Linked DNA regions of Homo sapiens: region 1 is linked to region 2. Evidence: promoter capture Hi-C in 16 types of primary human blood cells and fetal thymus (Javierre and others, 2016). All regions are on one chromosome and are shown on one strand. Each heading gives the region's core, a stretch centred on a gene start or on the middle of the fragment in contact. The rest is flanking DNA. Distances are from core to core; before and after follow the strand shown. Region 1 overlaps ZNF544 (zinc finger protein 544). Region 2 holds the start of ZNF549 (zinc finger protein 549).

Region 1 (2,700 bases), core at 109-2,608, 720 kb before region 2:
CTAAAAATACAAAAATTAGCTGGGCGTGGTGGTGCGTGCCTGTAGTCCCAGTTAGTTGGGAGGTTGAGGCAGGAAAATCACTTGAACCTGGGGGGCGGAGGTTGCAGTGAGCTGAGATCACACCACTGTACGCCAGCCTGGTGACAGAGTGAGACTCTGTCTGGGAAAAAAAAAAAGGATGCCTCAAGATAGGTTTGCCGATTGTAACAGATGTACAATACAAATCCAAGTTGTTAACAGCAGGAGACACTGCATGTGTCTGTAGGACAGCAGACATGGGTGGGAACTCTGCACTTTCTCGTCAACTTACCTATAAACCTAAAACTGCTCTAAAAAATAAAGTCTATTAGCCTGGGCAACATGATGAAACCCTATCTCCATTAAAAATACAAAAATTAATGGCCAGGTGCAGTGGCTCATACCTGTAATCCCGGCACTTTGGGAGGCTGAGGCAGGTGGATCACCTGAGGTCGGGAGTTCGAGACCAGCCTGACCAACATGGAGAAACCCCACCTCTAATAAAAATACAAAATTAGGGCCAGGCGTGATGGCTCACACCTGTAATCTCAGCACTTTGGGAGGCTGAGGCGGGCGGATCATGAGGTCAGGAGATCAAGACCATCCTGGCTAACACGGTGAAACTCTGTCTCCACTAAAAATACAAAAAATTAGCCGGGCATGGTGGACATGCCTGTAATCCCAGCTACTTGGGAGGCTGAGGCAGGAGAATCACTTGAACCTGGGAGGTGGAGGTTGTGGTGAGCCGAGATTGTGCCATTGCACTCCAGTCTGGGCAACAAGAGCGAAACTCCGTCTTAAAAAACAAAAACAAAAACAAAAGAATTAGCCAGGTGTGGCAGTGTGCACCTGTAGTCCAAGCTACTAGGGAGGCTGACGCATGAGAATTGCTTGAGCCAGGGAGATGGGGGCTATAGTGAGCCAAGACAGCGCCACTGCACTTCAGCCTGGGCAACAGAGTAAAACCCTATCTCAAAATAAATAAATAAATACATACATTAATTAAAAAAAAACAAATCAAGTAAAGAGGCCTAAATGGTTGGGATGATGAACATGTTCTAGAACTGATTGTGGTGAGGGTTCCACACTCAGGGAAGACACTGGAAGCCATGAACTGCATACTTCGAATTGGTGAACTCCTTTGAATGGGTGAACTGCTGCAAAGAGCACCCAAGGAGGCTTCCTCCAAACAAGGCTCCCTCCTTGGCCCCTGGGGCCCTGCGGAGAGCTCTCTGTCCAAGCTTGTTAAACGTTGAGCTGCTCACCACAAGGTCTGCTCTTACCTCGGGGGGCCTCCTGCTCTGCCCTGCACAGGTCCTCTTCTTGCTCCAGCTGAGAGATCACATCAGATTTGGAAAGGAAAAGCCCTGGTCAAAGACGGAAAAAGGACTTGCCCCTCTGCTTGGACACCAAGAACCATGTCCTGGGTCCAAGCTTCAGCCCCTAGTGCTGTCCCGAGGAAACTCCCCACTGTTAGGACTACAAGTCACAAACCTGTCCCAGAGATAGAATGAAGGGCAACCCCTGGGAACTGCACCTGAAAGGGACCTGCTTCCAGTATCTTCCAGCACATCCCAGAACACCCTTCAGAACTTGGTACAGCTTTGAGTCCTAGGGGTAGAACCTCCTTCCATGAGCACAGCCACTTACCCAGGGAGACAATATGCTCCCAGGTCTCCAGTGTCACCTCTCGGTACAGTGTCCTCTGGGCCAGGTCCAGCTGTTCCCACTCCTCCTGTGTGAATGCCATAGCCACATCCTCGAAGCACACAGATGCCTGAAACAGGGCACTTGTTACTGCTCAGAGACCCCAGGTCCTCATGCCCTCACGGAGGTACCTGTTAAGGCCTAAATGTTGGTGTCCCCCCGTAAAATTCATACATTGGAACCTAATACCCAGTGAGATAGTGTTAAGAGGTGGGGTCTTTACAAGGCAATTAATGTCCTCATAAAAGAGGCTTGAGGGAGCCTGTGTTCACCTTCTACCATATGAGGACATGTAAGAGGTGCCATCTATGAGACAGCAGGCCCCAACCAGACCAACTCTGTTGACACATTGATCTTGGACTTACCAGCCTCCAGAACTATGAGCAGTCAATTCTGTTGTTTGTAAATTGCTCACTCTAAGGTATCTTATTATAGCAACCCAAACGGACTGGGACAGCTCCATGTATGTGGTCTGTACCATTCCTTTTCTGGGCATCTCACCTCTTGCCAGTCACAGCAGTGGTCCTGATTTCTAGACTGGAAATGACAGGAACTCCACTAGGAGATCCTCACCCACTTCCTCTCTACAAAAATCACAGATTCGAAATGAGGTAAGAAAGACACTCTAAATCGGGGTGGGAAAACTGCAGCCTGTAGGACAAATCAGGGCTGTGGTGTGTTTTCAAAAGGCTAATGCTATAGAATAAACTGTGTTCCCAAAATTCACATGTTGAACCCTAACTCCCAAAGTGACTGTTGAAGAAGGTGATTGACCGGGCACGGTGGCTCACGCCTGTAATCCCAGCACTTTGGGAGGCCGAGGCGGGCAGATCACAAGGTCAGGAGTTCGAGACCAGCCTGGCCAACATGGTGAAACCCCGTCTCTACTAAAAATACAAAAATTAGCCAGGCATGGTGGCACATGCCTGTAATCCCAGCTACTCTTCCTGGCTGCAGCAGGAGAATCGCTTGAAC
Region 2 (2,700 bases), core at 112-2,611:
CTCTGGCTCCACATAGAGTGAACAGTTCGCCAAGTCTTCTGAATGGTGACTCTACACAGTGTCCCACCCTCAAATCCATCCTATGCAGTGTGTATTCCTTACACATTCCCTTTGGAAGTACCCCCGGAACCCCATGGCCCTCCTATCTGCAGGCAGCTTCGCCAAGGCCGACCCACACTTTCCCAGCCTCCAGCCTCAGCCCTCCCTCTCTTCATCTCAAAGTAAAACCTTAAGATTTCCCGTCTAAATTTAAGGCTTGGCTTGAGTCTACGCCCCAGCCTGTCTCCATTTACACATCACTGAGTCAGTCCCCTCCCATGAATTTTCTACTTATGATTCCAACTGCCCATGTAACAACTTCACTCTGTGGCAATTTAGAAACACCACGTCCAAAATTCAACTCCTACTATTTCCCTGAAACCTGCTCCCTCACCAGATTTCTTTGTCAACTCTTCCAGATGTTCAGGTAAAAGAAAAACTTGGGATCATACTTCACTCCCACTTTTGCTCATAGGCACAAATGATGGAGCAGAAAATCCTGCTGGCTTTACCTTTAAGATCTACCAAGATTCTTATTACTTAGGTCCCTTCAGCAACCCGTCTGGTCCAGAATCCACCATAATCCTCCTGGAGCCTACTACAGCAGTCTCCTCACCAGTATCCCTGCGTCCACCCCCATCACTCCGTAACAGTCTGTTTTCTCCACTCATTGCCTTTGAAATATTTTTTCAGACCCTCACTCAGATCGTGTTCTCCTTTAGTTCACAACCCTCCATGGCTCCCAAAGACTCAGAATTAAAAACCCCGGTTGCTCAGGCTGCCATGGCAGCCGTGCCTTCTTCTCCTCATTCTCTCTGCTCCCTGCAGACACAGGTCCGCCCCCAAGTTTCCGAATGCTCGCGACCCCGGCGCACCTCCCAGGCTCTGCGCGTGCAGCCCCCACGGTACGCAACGCTCTCCCTTCTTCACCTCACCGCCCGTCAGCTCTGAGGACCCCACCCAGAACTCCTCGCTGTCCTGGAGAAGAGGCCTGAACTGCAGAGACCCACGCAGGTGACCCCAGTCCGGGGCCTCAGGACCCAGGTGAGGATCCGAGGACTCCGCTCTCACCTGCGGCGTAATCACTAGCGCTGCCTCGGCCATGGGACTTTAGGCGGGGCGGGGCCTGGAAAGGCGGGCGGTAAAGCCCGGGATCCGGCGTGCGTGCGGTGGCAAATCGCTGGGCGACGCTCAGACCGAGACCAGGCAAGCTCCTCTGCGGGCGGACACCACCTCCACCGGTTTCCGGCTCCAGTTACCTGGCCCGGACCCAGCGAGCCGGAAACGCCCAGCCCGCGGACGCGCTCGCAGGCAGCAAAAACGACCACCACCGGAAAGACGCCGGAAGATTCTGGCGTATTGCGCACTTACGGAGGTGCCCCTTTCCTGGGCAATGATTGGTCTAAGGCCCCGGCACGCTCGGCGCACAGTATTCTGGGTGGTGTAGTTCCTACCACGCCGCAGTCCGCCGCGCTGTGAGGACTCAATCCAAGAAAGAGAGGACAAAGGAAAAAACCCATCAAACTAGGGTCAGCAAAGCCTATTACATACACAGGATAAAAGAATACGATTTGATCTTCATTTCTCAACACAAAAGTTGACATATATTGCATACAATACATTAAAAATGTTGACAATTGAGAATTGACGCGACCCTTAATTTTTTTCTTTTTTTTAATGTAGAAACTATAACCAAAAATAAAATTCAAAGGCCTCCCAACTATCTGAATGGACCCCCTCCTCTCAGCATTATAGAGTTAACCTGAAAATCTAGTTCAGGCCATTATGGAAGAAGGGGTTGGACATGCCTCATTCTACCCCTACAGCAATAACATCAGCATAGACCTTAAGTCTGATAAGAAACATTTACAATCTATTTCTCTGAAACTTGCTACCTGCAGGCTTCATCTGTATGATAAAACCTGGGTCTCCAACCAAGGTGATCACTAACAGTGGGGTCAGCATCCCCTTATCCCACACGTTTGTGTTTATTCTGTTTTTTTGCCCTCAAGTGTTAGTGACTTAAATTACATAATGTATCTATTATCATAAGTGGAACTGAAATGAGATTGCAGAAACATTATATCTTCTTTTTCTTTTCTTTTTTTCCTTTTTTTTTTTTGACAGAGTCTCACTCTGTCGCCCAGACTGGAGTACAGTGGTGCAATCTCTGCTCACTGTAACCTCCACCTCCCAGGTTCAAGCGATTCTCCTGCCTCAGCCTCCCGAGTAGCCGGGACTACAGGCATGCGCCACCACCCCCGGATAATTTTTGTATTTTTAGTAGAGACAGGGTTTCACCATGTTGGCCAGGCTGGTCTAGAACCGGCCTCAAGTGATTCGCCTGCCTTAAAGTGCTGGGATTACAAGCATGAGCCACCATGCCTGGCTTTTTTCCCCCATATTTAGCAATTAGCTTTTGTTGCTATCCATTGTCTTCATTTCTCTTTAGTTTTTAATTGTTTATAATTTTGACATTTTATAATTACTTAAGAAAGGTTAGAAAAATTACCATTTAGATTGGAGTCATATTAAATAAGACACCTATATTGTAAAAATATCTTTATGAATGTAATCTTTGGCTATAGTGTTGTAACCGAGCGAGTTATAGAGAAATGCCACACTCTGAGACTAATTCTGGAGTCCTTTTATTGCCAGCGA

What was found. The method cuts DNA at HindIII sites, captures the fragments that hold promoters and counts their contacts. A CHiCAGO score of 5 or more calls a contact.
Region 1: a contact is called between a fragment that was not itself captured here and the fragment with the promoter of ZNF549 in region 2, in 1 of 17 cell types (non-activated CD4 T cells). The highest score is 5.1, in non-activated CD4 T cells.

What each region holds. Positions count from the first base shown.
Region 1 is chr19:58,245,396-58,248,095 of GRCh38, reverse strand. It overlaps ZNF544 (zinc finger protein 544), which reads right to left. Exons shown (of 7, transcript NM_014480.4): 5 at 1,669-1,795; 6 at 1,302-1,385. Among named protein-coding and RNA genes, the nearest start is that of ZNF544, 18 kb to the right of the region's middle. The HindIII fragment of the contact is 193 bases long and covers 1,262-1,454 here.
Region 2 is chr19:57,526,017-57,528,716 of GRCh38, reverse strand. ZNF549 (zinc finger protein 549) reads right to left here and starts at 1,361. Exons shown (of 4, transcript NM_001199295.2): 1 at 1,111-1,361. The coding sequence starts at 1,143. The HindIII fragment of the contact is 12,430 bases long and covers 1-2,700 here.